5 separate regions of the Homo sapiens genome follow, and all the other regions are linked to region 3. Evidence: promoter capture Hi-C in 16 types of primary human blood cells and fetal thymus (Javierre and others, 2016). All regions are on one chromosome and are shown on one strand. The core of a region is centred on a gene start or on the middle of the fragment in contact, and the rest is flanking DNA. Distances in the headings are between cores, read along the strand shown. Region 1 overlaps SRD5A3 (steroid 5 alpha-reductase 3). Region 2 overlaps CLOCK (clock circadian regulator). Region 3 holds the start of EXOC1 (exocyst complex component 1). Region 4 overlaps CLOCK (clock circadian regulator). Region 5 overlaps CRACD (capping protein inhibiting regulator of actin dynamics).

What was found. Contacts are between HindIII fragments. The CHiCAGO score rates a contact against its expected background, and 5 or more counts as called.
Region 1: a contact is called between a fragment that was not itself captured here and the fragment with the promoter of EXOC1 in region 3, in 2 of 17 cell types (naive B cells and activated CD4 T cells). The highest score is 5.8, in naive B cells.
Region 2: a fragment that was not itself captured here is called in contact with the fragment with the promoter of EXOC1 in region 3 in 5 of 17 cell types (naive CD4 T cells, total B cells, naive B cells and 2 more); the score reaches 6.0 in naive CD4 T cells.
Region 4: a fragment that was not itself captured here is called in contact with the fragment with the promoter of EXOC1 in region 3 in 1 of 17 cell types (total CD4 T cells); the score reaches 5.2 in total CD4 T cells.
Region 5: a fragment that was not itself captured here is called in contact with the fragment with the promoter of EXOC1 in region 3 in 2 of 17 cell types (megakaryocytes and fetal thymus); the score reaches 6.4 in megakaryocytes.

The regions. Positions count from the first base shown.
Region 1 is chr4:55,361,763-55,364,462 of GRCh38, forward strand. It overlaps SRD5A3 (steroid 5 alpha-reductase 3), which reads left to right. Exons shown (of 5, transcript NM_024592.5): 3 at 2,312-2,509. Among named protein-coding and RNA genes, the nearest start is that of LINC02928, 15 kb to the right of the region's middle. The HindIII fragment of the contact is 6,744 bases long and covers 1-2,700 here.
Region 2 is chr4:55,437,239-55,439,938 of GRCh38, forward strand. It overlaps CLOCK (clock circadian regulator), which reads right to left. Exons shown (of 23, transcript NM_004898.4): 22 at 1,044-1,299. It also overlaps a transcript of TMEM165 not described here. Among named protein-coding and RNA genes, the nearest start is that of TMEM165, 43 kb to the left of the region's middle. The HindIII fragment of the contact is 726 bases long and covers 937-1,662 here.
Region 3 is chr4:55,852,207-55,854,906 of GRCh38, forward strand. EXOC1 (exocyst complex component 1) reads left to right here and starts at 1,442. Exons shown (of 19, transcript NM_001024924.2): 1 at 1,442-1,747. RefSeq lists a silencer at 1,234-1,333. The HindIII fragment of the contact is 2,625 bases long and covers 75-2,699 here.
Region 4 is chr4:55,454,647-55,457,346 of GRCh38, forward strand. It overlaps CLOCK (clock circadian regulator), which reads right to left. Exons shown (of 23, transcript NM_004898.4): 12 at 1,572-1,654; 13 at 1,251-1,357. Among named protein-coding and RNA genes, the nearest start is that of TMEM165, 60 kb to the left of the region's middle. The HindIII fragment of the contact is 1,919 bases long and covers 485-2,403 here.
Region 5 is chr4:56,300,320-56,303,019 of GRCh38, forward strand. All of the region lies in intron 4 of CRACD (capping protein inhibiting regulator of actin dynamics), which reads left to right. Among named protein-coding and RNA genes, the nearest start is that of AASDH, 86 kb to the right of the region's middle. The HindIII fragment of the contact is 1,165 bases long and covers 742-1,906 here.

The DNA of each region.
Region 1 (2,700 bases), core at 184-2,683, 490 kb before region 3:
CACTGCACTCCAGCCTGTGCCACAGAGTGAGACTCCATCTAAAAAAAAAGAGCAAACCCGTGGACATCCTCTTTGGAAGGGTAGGCTACATCAGCGGATCTCACTCCACTCGTTAAAACTTCATCTCTTCGTTTGTTTACTGTGAGACTGACTGGGGTGTTTTGGTATTTGGAGGGTTGGTTGTGAGGATATGAGGAATTCTATTTGTTTGCTTTAACTTGTTCCTAAGGAGTTAAAACTAAGTTTTAGTTCATTTAAAATACAAAAACAGTCAAAGCTAATCTGTGCTGATAGGGGTTGTTCCCCATGGGAAGTTTGGGGGAGGGGTCGTGCCTACACTAGGGGGTGCTGTTCGTGTTCTGTTTCTTCTTTTTTTTTTTTTTGAGATGGAGCCTTGCTCTGTTGCCCAGGCTGGAGTGCAGTGGCCTGATCTCAGCTCACCACAACCTACCCCTCCCGGGTTCAAGCGATTCTCCTGCCTCAGCCTCCTGAGTAGCTGGGACTACAGGCATGCGCCACCATGCCCGGCTAATTTTTGTATTTTTAGTAGAGACAGGGTTTCACTCTGTTGGCCAGGCTGGTCTTGAACTCCTGACCTTGTGATCCGCCTGCCTCAGCCTCTCAAAGTGCTGGGATTACAGGCATGAGCCACCGCATCCAGCCTGTTTCTTTTGTTTGTTTCATTTTTTTCTTTCTTTTTCTTTTTTTAAGAGAGAGGGTCTCACTCTGTTGTACAGGCTGGAGTGCCGTGGCATGATCATAGCTCACTGCAGCCTTTAACTCCTGGGCTCGAGCAGTCCTCCCTCCTCCACCTCTTGAGTAGTTGGGACTACAGGTGCACGCCACTATGCCCAGCTAATTTTTTTTTTAATGTTTTTAGAGATGGGGTACCTGCTGTGTTGCCCAGGCTGGTCTCAAACTCCTGGTCTCAAGCGATCCTCCAACCTCAGCTTCCTAAAGTGTTCTGTTTCTGGATCTGGGTGCTGTTACATGGGTGGGATTGGTTGGCTTAATTTGTAAAAGTTAATTAAGTTGCATCTTTATGGTGTGCATGCGTGTGTGTGTGTTTGTGTGTGAGACTTTTTTTTTTTTTTTTTTAATGGAGACAGAGTCTTGCTCTATCTCCCAGGCTGATTGCAGTGGCCCAATCTTGGCTCACTGCAACCTCCACCTCCCAGGTTCAAGCAGTTCTACTACCTCAGCCTGCCAAGTAGCTGGTTCTACAGGCGCACACCACCATGCCTGGCTAATTTTTTGTATTTTTAGTAGAGACAGGGTTTCACCATGTTGCCCAGGCTGGTCTCGAACTCCTGAGCTCAGGCAATCCACCCGCCTCCAACTCCCAAAGTGGTAGGATTACAGGCATGAGCCATCGCCCCCGGCCGTGACTCATTTCTTTTTTAAGTGACTGGGCGTGGTATCTCACACCTAAAATCCCAGCACTTTGGGAGGCTGAGGCTGGAGGATGGCTTGAGGCCCGGAGTTCGAGACCAGCCTGGGCAACAAAAAAAATTTTTTTTTAATTAGTCAGGTGTGGTGGCACATGACTATAGTTCTAGCCACTCAGGAAGCTGAGACAGAGGATCACTTGAGCTCAGGAGTTCAAAGCTGCAGTGAGGCCTGACTGTGCCACTGCACTCTAGCCTGGGTGACAGAGCAAGACCCTGTCTCAAAAATAAAGAAGTTGACACATAAAATTAACCAAAAAATAAAAAACAAAAAAGAAAAAAAGAGAAACTAAGTGTGTGTTTTTTTAAAGCCAGCTTTTCTTCAGATTTTTTGGTGGGCAGGTCGTGAAAGACAGGTGAGGAAGTAGATCTTGGGCTCAGCATGCCTCTAAAAGTATAATTTCTTTTTTTTAATGTGGAAAGAAATGCATAACTCTGTTTCTGTTCCTGTCCCCCTCTCTGCCTCTGTGATGCCTGAGATACTGGGGATCCCACAGCTGGGGCCACTCAGAGGCTACCAGGAACGCTTCCAGTTTGCATCTGGCTGTTAGTGCCAGGACCAGAAACCCACAGACCTCTTCACAGACCTCCTGACCGTGATGTCCCTGAAGCCTGGAAGGCTGTCACACAATGAAGCAGAATTGAGTGATGGGTGTTTGTGAACCCAGTGAACTGTGTAACACAGTGAACTGTGTAATTTGAGTGAAGTCAAATTCCTTGACTTCATTTGGCCCATTTCTTCCTTACTACCAAAAAGAAAGATGTTAGATGGGATTTAATACTTTGCTTAACAGTACAGAAAAACAAAACTTTGGATTAATCCCAGAAGAGAAATGCTGACCCTGTTGCCTTCTGAATTGTAGGAGGGGAGCTGGCACTGTCTGCATTCTTAGTGCTAGTATTTCTGTGGCTGCACAGCTTACGAAGACTCTTCGAGTGCCTCTACGTCAGTGTCTTCTCCAATGTCATGATTCACGTCGTGCAGTACTGTTTTGGACTTGTCTATTATGTCCTTGTTGGCCTAACTGTGCTGAGCCAAGTGCCAATGGATGGCAGGAATGGTGAGTGGATCCAGCCCTGCCAGGAGCTCCCCACCCCAGGGTGTATGATGCGCTCTCGGGGCTTGTGCTGTGCTAAGCATTATGAGACATGCAGAAGTAAGAGACAGGCCCAATGCATTTTGCATTTCAGGAGATGAGACTCAAGTCGATTTTAAAAGGCCGGGCGTGGTCGCTTACACCTGTAATCCCAC
Region 2 (2,700 bases), core at 50-2,549, 420 kb before region 3:
TATTTATGCCTGAATATAGAGTACAATAATCACATCACATGTTATATAACCCAGAAATTGATGATAAGTGCCCAGCCTAGATGAAGTGGTCTCTAGTACACATACAGACTAGCCTACATTCAAAATTGCTCCAGCTAGGCCAGAAGGGGAAAAGGTAGATTTCTAGTGAGGATCCTGAGGTCCAGATAAGGGTTTTGTACATTTCTCTGCTGAGGATCTTGCCTAGTGACTTTCTTCTGTATCCTATAGATAAGGAGAGCCTGTCTGATTCACTAAATGATATCTGTGTCTATATTTTGGCTAATCCAAGTGTCTATTACATTTGTCAATATAGCGGTCACAAATAACAGCTAGCCATGTGCCTTGTCTTATATTCAGTGATTTACAAGCACTATTAATCCATGAGGTATCAATTATTATGACCTCCACTTTACACGTGACGTTTACCAAGAGTAAGCAACCTGCCAAAGGTCACGCAGTACGTGGTGCAGCAGTGACTCAACCCCAAGGCAGCTAGACTTTACAGCCCAAGTTCTTAGCTATACATATACTTAGCTCATAGATATACTACACCTCCATGGTATTTCTCCTCTGATATTAATTTACAACTGAAAAATTATAATAAGATTGAATTCAACAAAATAATTTAAGGTAACACCTATACTAGTAAAAAGAAATCCCTGCTCTGTACAGAGCAGAGTTTATGGTTGGCTAGAAAAAGGAGGAAAGAGGTGCTTGCTTAAGTTCCAGAAACTCTAGCCAGAGACTAAGAAAACAGGTGGGCAGGAAGTAGGCCACTCACTCTGTCCAGCAGTTCTGATAACTGGGTATGCCCAATGGCACGTCTAAAGTCTTCCAACGACTGAGCAAGGGAAGAAAAAAAATCGCCAACCAGAACAAGCTTTCTATCTTTGTAGAGATTTAAACTGTACAATAAGCTTTTGTGAATTTTTCACATCACTCACAAATCTGTTCACTTAATGCTTAATTTCATTACATGAAAGTAAATGAGTTTGAAGCAGCTTCCCCATGGGGAGAATTACCTGTAAAAATTGTTGCGGTGGCTGGGTCAGCTGAGCCTGAGATGGTTGCTGAACTGAAGTGAGCTGCTGCTCCTGGGAGCTCTGCTGCTGCTGCTGCTGCGTTACTGACAATGTCTGTGACTGTTGCTGTTGTGTAGCAAAAGTAGGATATGCAGTCACCACCTGGCCCATAAGCATAGTACTAGGTACCATGACTGCCCCACAAGCTACAGGAGCAGTCACTAATTTGGTCACAAGTTGTTGACCTTGAGAAAATCTGTTAGAAGAAAGAAGGAAAAAAATTGGAGTCCAAAGTACAAGGTATACATCATAAAACGCAGTGGAGTAAATACTTACCTAAGATAATACCCAATGACATTGCCAGTTTGTTTTTCAAGGTCTGTATATTCCTACTTTGTTTCATTTTAAAAGATTCCCTTTGGTGTAACAGTAAAACAAAAAATTCATACAGCAAGATCAATGTGTAACAAAAATACAAAACGTCTTTGGATATCCACATTCAAAAGAATAAAGTTAGATCCTTACCTCACATCACAGACAAAGATTAACTTGAAATGGACCAAAGACCAAAACATAAGAGCTAATGCTATAAAACTCTTAGAAGAAAACATAGGGGAAAAGCTTCATGACATTGGATTTAGCAATAGTTAGCAGCTGGAATTAGCAATAATTTCTTGGATATGATACCAAAAGTACAGGCAACAAAAGAACAGATAAACAGATAAACTGGACTGTATCAAATTAAAAATCTTGTGAATCAAAGGGCACTATCAACAGAGTAAAAAGGTAACTGTCCCATCCCACAGATGGGAGAAAATATCTGCATATCATCCTTCTGATAAGGGATTAGTAACCAGAATGTCTAAGAGCTCCTTCAACTCAACAACAATCAACCCAATTAAAAAAATGGGCAAAGGTCAAACTTGAACAAACACTTCTCCAAAGAAGATACACAAATGGCTAATAAGCACATGAAAAGGTGCTCCACATCACTAATCATTAGGGAAATACAAATCAAAACCACAACAAGAGGCTACTTTATACCCATCAGGATGGCTATTATAAAAAACAAACAACAATAGAAAATGACCAGTGTTGGCAAGCAAGTAGAGAAACCTTGTGCAGTGCTGGTGGGAATGTAAAAATGGTGCAGCCACTATGGAAAACAGTATGCAGTTCCTCAAAAAATTCACTATAGGATTACTATATGAAGGAATTCCACTTCTGCTTATATAACCCCCCAAAATGAAAGCAGGGACTCAAAGAGATATTTGTACACCCATAATCATAAGCAGCATTATTCACAGGAGCCAAAAAGTGGAAGTAACCCAAGACTCCATTGACAGACGGAATGAATAAGCAAAACATAGTAGAGTAGAATATTACTTAGCCTTAAAAAGGAAAGAAATTCTGACAATTGCTGTAACATGGATGAACCCTGAGAACATTATCCTAAGTAAAATAAGCCATTCACAAAAGGACAAATACTGTATGATTCCATTTATATGAGGTACTTAGACTAGTCCAATTTACAGGGACAGAAAGTAGAATGGTGGTTGGGGAGAGAAGAATGGGGACTTGTATAATGGGTATGGAGTTTCTGTTTGGGAAGATGAAAAAAGTTCTGGAAATGGTTAGGGGAGATGGTAACAATCGT
Region 3 (2,700 bases), core at 192-2,691:
GAGGACAGGAGCCGACATACAAATGCTTCCTCCGTTCTTTCCTTTAATGGACAGTTCTGAGACTCATTTCATAAAGCTTCTTAGAAGGTCCTAAGGGACTAAGAAAACATTCAAATATGGTGATGACCAACTCAGTAACACATTCTTATACTGCATCTCCCTTTTTGTTTTGTCTTCTTCCTCTTCCCTCATTTTGCTCCCTGGGATCAAATTTCCAAATAAACTATTGCATATAAGTGTCACTTTGCAGGGAATCCAAGAGGAGAGAGGATAATTTAATTTTTGGACACACAAGTTTGAGGTGTCTATAAGACATCCAAGTGGAAATGTCAGGCGATGGGCAGTATATACACAAATCTTGAGGTTCAAGAAAGAGATCTAGGCTTCTGAAATGCAATTCATTTCCCAACTTTGAGGAGGGCTATAAACATACAGGTAAATAAAAGAAAGATAATAGGACCAAAAAACACATGCAATTGTCATAGAGTGTCCACAGTAAGCATTCCGGTGCCAAGCAGGAAAGGGTCTTTGTAAAGATATAACCAGATCCTGCTCTTAAAAGGGAAGTCATTTGATGAAAGTGAAAAGTATTCTAACTACTGTTTGCTCATTTAAATTTCTAGCACATTTATCTGATCTGTACCTCTCTTTGGTCACTTATTTTGTGTCCTATTTTATATATATTTGTACCTACACCTTGTCTAGTCCTACCACACTGTGAACTCCTTTAGGTTAAGATTCATGCCTGAATCACCTCTGTACCTGGAATCAAAGTGCCTAGCATTAAAAAAAAAAGGTGCCAGGAATATTGAATAAATAAAACACCTACCTGCAACCAGCAACATTGGCATCATTTATGCATCCCAAACTTAAATATGCATAAGCATCATCTTGCTAAGATGCAGATTCTGATTCAGTAGATCTGAAGTGAGCCAGAGAGGCTGCATTTCCTAAAAAGCCCCCAGATGATACCCAAGCAGCTGATCCACGGACCACACTTTGAGTATCAAGGTCATGAGGACAATGGTTCTTGACCTTAGCTGCATATGAGAATCATCTGGGAAGATATTAAAAGTACTGATGTCTGGGTCCCACCCGCAGGGATTCTGATTTAACTCATTTAAGCTCTCCAAAGTTTAAGTAGCAAAGATCTAGAGTTAATAGAGCTTTACGTATGAAAAAAGAAAACATTTAATCGAATTTCTTCTTAAATGAATTGCTGCAAATATCTGAATAAATAACTCTTAATCCCCAACTCCCAAGTCAGTTTCTGTGCCACAAAGGCCCCGCCCCTGCCCTTCCCTGACACGCCCCTCCAATGAGGCCTTGTTCCGCCTGGCCACGCCCGTCGGTTGGCGCCCCGCCCCTCCGCGTCTATTGGCCGCTCCCTTTTTCTCCCATCGCTGCTTCTTCCTTCTCTACGCGGTCAACTTCCGGCGCGGAGTTTGTCACGTGCCCGGATATAGGAAGTGTTGGGGGAACGGCCGCTTCCCGTTCAACGCTTTATTGAGGGGCGTATCCTAGTGGCCCCCATCCGGTCTCCGTTTTGGAAGACCCGCCTCGGCACAGCCAGGCTCAGTCCGGCCTTGCGGTAAGCCTTCGGCCGCGGCTGCCCGGTAGTCCCGGCGGCGGCGGACAGACGAGCTGACAGGCACCAGGGTCTAAGGCGGCTCCTCAGTCCGGCTGCTGTCTCCACGCCTGGGGTCGGGCACCGCTCCTTCTGACCTTCCTTTCCCCGTTTGTCCCGGTAAGACGAAGTTTGGTCAGAGCATTCTCCAGTCCCTTGTCCTCGGGTCTAGGAGAATGCGGAGCTGGGAGGGCAGTCCTCACGGGCCCCATTACGGTTCCGCCCATCGGAACCAGATTTTGTTTGTGCAAAATGACCCTGATCGTAAGCTCTTTGGCGTGGTCCAGGAGAGGAGAGCGTGACTGTGCCTTCCTCTTTGTCCAAATTCACATCCCGGCCCCCCAACCCCAACTCCCCCCCACCCCCCGCCAAATCTCTTAAGTGTATTTCTCTATTTCCTTGCACAGTTATATCTTCTAGATGGCAATGCTTCATGCATTAATATATCTCAGCAGCATACAGGGCCCAATGCACACGGGCACTCACACTGACAGGCTATTTGTCACACAGTGTGGTGGTCCAACTGAGCTGAAGGAAACAACCAGTACAGAGTAAGCAGTGGATGGCTGCCTTTGGAACGTGGTCAGATATGGGTTCTCAGACCTGGAGAATAATTTTAGAGGACCTCTAGGGATTTATTTACTGACTTTCAGAAAAGTACCGTAAAGACTGAAGAGTTAATCACTCGACTCTTAGGATGTAAATGCCATAGAAACACCCGGCTTCAGGTCTTCATAAACATATCTGTCATGTTGACTACTGTAACCTAGAATAGTGTCTGCCACCTAATAAGCATGAGTATTTGCTGAATGAATGAAGAGTCACATACTGCTTTTCATTATGGCTAACTCCTTTATGAGGTATGCCCAATCCTGTCTTGTTTTGCCTCTTACTGTACACTCAGTTGCTTTTAGCCAGAGAAGGAGTATGTGGTAAACGTTGGTCCCTATTATTCATTTGACCAGTTTTTACTATTCAGTTCTAATTACCTTAATAGATATTTAAGTATCCACTAAACACAAAACTATGATGAACATCCCTCCCTTCTTTAAGAGAATTCTTGAGATAGAGAA
Region 4 (2,700 bases), core at 194-2,693, 400 kb before region 3:
AGTTAAATTAATTTGGGAAACTTTTTGTTAAATAGGTGTCTTCAGTTTTCTCAAAACCTAGAGTATGCTAATGCATGTGCAGATTCTCTGAGGGATTATGAAGTGTTTCCCCATCTTCCTTGACTATAAAGTCTTTTTTTATGGACCAACATTCGGTGGAACAAACCTTAGAAAATGCTAGTCAAGAATCTCTCAATCTGTCCCCCCACCCCCCAACCCCGCCGCCACCGCCTCTCACTCTCTAAGGAGGAAATCAAGGTCTACAAACAAACTTGCTGTCCAAAGTTACCCAGCTAGTTAATAGAGGTATCAGCTCTTTAGACAACATCATGGTGCTTAATGCCCACATCTTTTGTGCTGAAATGACTTTACTCTGAAAATTTTCCATAGAGTTAATGCTATTATACAACCTGCTTCATTTTCATACAGTGAGGTTTATAACAGCAGCATAAAACGTCATGAAAAGGTCTAAAATATCTAGTTAAGCTTTAGTGAACACTCAAGATGGTAAGCATCTGGGAGGAGGATCAGAGAAGCAAATAAAACATATCATTAAGGCAAACCTCATCATTAAAACAAACTTCTAAAATAAATACATGTGATAAAAAGAGTAGGCCTAGGCTCCAATCCTGTCTCTGCCACCAATGAGCTATGAAATTATGGGTGAATTACTTAGCCTTACTGTGTTCTCAGCTTACTCATGAAGATAATAATAGCATCTACCTTTTAGAACTGTGATGGAGAATAATGAAGATAATAGATGTAAAGTGTTTAGAACAGTGCCTGGCACAAAGGATGATAATGCTCCTGCTCTAACAACAATAATAAGCAGATAACACCAAGCACTTACTATGAGCTTTCTAAGACAGATTTTCCAGACATGTACCTAGCTCCTGAAAAGATTCACATGCCTCAAAATCAAAATTTAGGAAACAATACTCCAAAAGTTTGAAGTATTACAATTTTCAAAGGAATCTACTTCTCTTACTCCAGATATAGAGCTCACGTGCTTCAGAACAAGGTGTATTAGATGCAATATTATAAAATTCTACTTATTATAAAAATAGGAACAAGTTTAAACTTGATCTATGATTCCTACTACATTGGTTATATACATAAAGCAAAATCTTTTAGCATATTTCAAAAATATGAAAATGATTATAAATCTGTGTCTTACTACCTATCATTTCAGGACAGGACTTCTGCTTATAAAACAGTTATTATCACCAGAAATGTTAAAATCTACTTACAGTGCTCATGACATTTTGCCAAATTTTCTAGGTCATCCACATGATAGTAATCATAGCCTGATGTTCCCAGAACTTCAAATGGCAAATACCCTATTATGGGTGGTGCCCTAAATTACACAGAAAACAATCATTATTATAAGTTTTTCCATAATAAGAAATATTTCAACTAGAAATAAACTTTGGGGGGGGGGCTTTATTTTTCAAAAAATGGGAACAGGTTTCAAAGTCCTAATTTAAAAAAAAGTTTGCCCTTGATCCATTAATTTCAAGAATTATATAACATGACTATTACCTTTTCATGGAATTTAAAAATGGAATTACCTGTGATCTAGAAACAGAAACTTCCATTCTAAACTATGTCTAGATGTAAACTCTTCATTGGGTTCTTCAACAGTGCACATTTCCTACAAATAAATAATTAAAATTTATAAATACTTTGTGTCCTTAAGAATATTAAATATTGCTACATATAAAAATAAGTCATGGCCAGGTGCAGTGGCTCACACCTGTAATCCCAGCACTTTGGGAGGCTGAGGTGGGCAAATCACTTAGGTCAGGAGTTTGAGACCAGCCTGGCCAACATGGTGAAACCCGATTTCTACTAAAAATACAAAAAATAGCAGGGCACGGTGGCGGGCACCTGTAATCCCAGCTATTCGGCAGGCTGAGGCAGCAGGATCACTTGAACCCAGGAGGTGGAGGTTAAATAAATACATAAATAAATAGTCATTACTAGATAAACTTTTCCTAAACAAGTTAGTTGTTTCTATGTATGTATATATTTACCTATTTCTTTGTTTGACACAGGGTCTCACTCTGTCACTCAGCCTGAAGTACAGTGGTGTGATCTCAGTTCACTGCAGCCTCAACATCCTAGGCTCAAGCGATCCTCCTGCCTCAGCTTCCCAAGTAGCTGGGACTATAGGGATGCACCACCACGCCCGGCTAATTTTTGTATTTTTATTTGTAGAGGTGGGGGGTCTATGTTGTCTAGGCTGGTCTTCAACTCCTGGGCTCAAGCAACCTGCCCACCACAGCCTCCCAAAGTGCTGGGATTCTAGGCATAAGCCAAAATGCAGGCCCTTCTAAACAAGTTAATATATTTTAATTTTCCAGTACTAAAGAATGTGGTAATAAATAACCTTTAGATGCAAGCTTTTGGGTGGGTACTTCTCACTCTACACATTTTCCATTCACACATGCCTATAAACGCTTATTCAAAATTCAGACCTCTCTCCTGAATTACAGTTCCATATTTCCAAATATCTGAATGTCCTCATACATCTCAAATTCAATATGTCCTAAAATAAACTAACTGCTTTACTCCTCACACCCAATCACACAATTTTCCGTATTATTCTATACATGTGTAGTGGCCAGTGTCTAGAAATCTGATAGTTAAAAAAACATACTCTTTCATTTTTACCTTTCATCATCTAAGTGGCCATTA
Region 5 (2,700 bases), core at 74-2,573, 450 kb after region 3:
CTTGATGCCTGCTGCCACCGCTGCCCAAAGCCATAGTCCTGCCCTCAGGGCCAACCCCCAGACATGTCCTTCAAATCTTAGCATTTCCTAACTGGCTTCCATTCTTGGTTCTAGCTGGCCGTGCTCTAACACTTTTTATAGAAAAAGCAAGCTGTGACTTCTTATAGGTTGAAGAAGAGGGAAGTATGGTGATGGCCAAAGAAAACCTTGACCCCCCTCCTCCTTACCTTTCCTTCTTCAAGTCTTTTGATTCTTGCAATATTATTCCTAAGAAGTTGTGAACTTCTGGTTCATTGGATCCCCTTTCTAAGAGGAATGACTTACAGATTTCAGTTCACAAAACAGCTGTATTTTATGAGAGCTTTTTAGGAGTTTTTAAAAAATCAGATAAAAATCTCTTGTCTTCAATGATACCTGCTCTGTCACATCATACCACATGCCACTGCCACGCCAAGAAGTGGATTTAGTGTTGTAAAAAAGTATACTATATAATTCTGCAGTATTGGAAAGATAGAAACCCAATAAAAATATTTCTGTTAACAGTAAGGCGTGATTTTAAATAACCTGATGTCATAATTAATAAAATGTAAAATGACTAACTTCCCCGAAGTGACAATTGCATAAACACAGGAAGAAAAATGTGAGTAAAGCAGAATAACTGTTTAATTTGTGTGCGCTCATTTTGACAATATCTATTCAGATGAAGTCTGCCTAGTTTTGCTTCCGCTGCATGGATTCACAAGCTTCCTTTCAGCTCTGTAGTTATACTTTTGAAAACATAAAAGGCTTTGTTCATTCTTTGAGGAGGGAAATGGGGACCATTATCATAGAAAATGTGATTTTTTTTTTGGCGTGACTTGAGATATAACTGAATCATCCCCAAAAAGACTGTGCTTTATTTTTCAGTCGACTAAGCAGTATGTTCCTGGTAAGTCGTAGAAGTGATAGTAACTTTATTAACTTGCATGAATGCTTTGCATTTTTCCATGACAACGTGATGCTGGTATTGATGCTTAGTAAGCAGCCTAAGAGACCGCCCCCTTGTAGATGCCAGCATGGAATGAGAGAATTTAGTTGTGTCTGAGGCATGTATGTTTTTATGTCTGGAATTGTCTTTGTGTATGTGTGTATGTTTATTTTTAAAAAGAGAGAAGTAATGGAAAACACCTATTTGACAGTGTATGTCCTGGCAAGCTGATTAGCCACCATTATTAAGACATTCTTCTGAGATGAGATGTCTACTGGAGTGCCTTTTTTCTCTGTGGCTTAAGAAACTTCCCAGCCCTTCGAGTTCCTAGAGACCCACGGAAGGGTGTCTGTCTGTAATGCCTGCCTTTGGAAAGGCTGCCCTCTAGTGCCTGCACATGGTGGGCTCACCGAGAACTGTCTTAGTTTGCAGGTTGGTATCTCTCCACGGAGTACAGAAGAACTCAATACAGCAAAAACCAGCCTCCCCTTTCCTGAGTAATGTGAATCTACCATCTGCCACAATTTCTGTGGCAGATTTAAAAGAAAAAAATCACTATTTAAAAGAAAAATCACCATTTTTTTTCTAAAGATAAAAATAGTGCACGTGCAGAGTGAAAACAAATTTTAATATATGGGGCAGTTATAGGGACAAAACCAACAGTGGTGTCCTTTGTGAGGACTCTGTACATAACAGAGTCGCTCTGTGGCCAGTAGTGTGAATACCATTTGAATGAGTGACAGAATGCAGTGGAATATAAAGCCAGCCCCACCTGGCTGTATGGCTTTGGGTGAAGTCGTTCAACCTCTCTGGCACTTTCTCCTCCTGAAAACTAAGGGGCATGCACACAAGGGGTGATCTCAGGGCCCCTCCTGCTCTTAAGATCTGCGATCTCTATACAATCACTATTGAACTGCTGTAGCATGGAGCGGCTTCAGAAGCTTCGCACTTCGTTGCATTTCAGCTACAATGACCTTGACATTCCCTACAGCTGCCCACCAGCATGGATCAGGGAGGGTGCCTGTTTGTGTAAGATCAGACCGGGCTGTGAGGTATGTACCAACTGGTGATAAAACTCAGGGGTACCACAGTCTGAGGCTGCAGGTAATTGTTAGGATTATACCACACCTTTGTCAGGAAATGCTTAGTCTGTTTGTACCACGGATTATCTGGTGTAGGAGGGAACACCGCCATCCTGAGTGGCTTGTATCTCCCACCGAGCTGGATTTCACTTACAAATACCAAAGTCATACATTCGGGGATTTTGACACCTTACTGCAGCTGTCAAGGACACAAAGAATAAACACCCGCTCTTAGCCACTTCTTCCTAGAGCAGGATGTCTTTAATTCTGTATGCTTTTTCTTTTTTTTTATTATTATTCATTTTAACTATGGAGATACCTGTAGTTTGCTCAAAAAGACAGCAACTTTACTTATTTATTTTTTTCTGCTTTGCTCTTTAGACATAGTCTGAAGGATAGGAAAATCTAGACACTGGCAGAGAGCTGCAGAATATGGTGTGCTCGGCATTTCCACATTGTAGGAATAAGCCTTATAAATATGGATATGCATTCCTGTAATGTCATTCTCCAGCATTCCACATTACAACAAAATGGTCCAATTTGAATGAATAAAATATAGTTCCTTGTAGCTCACATTCCAGTCTCAACAGTAACTCCATTCATGGCCACCAGCAACATGGAGTGTCAGTTGAGGCACAGATTTCCACTCTC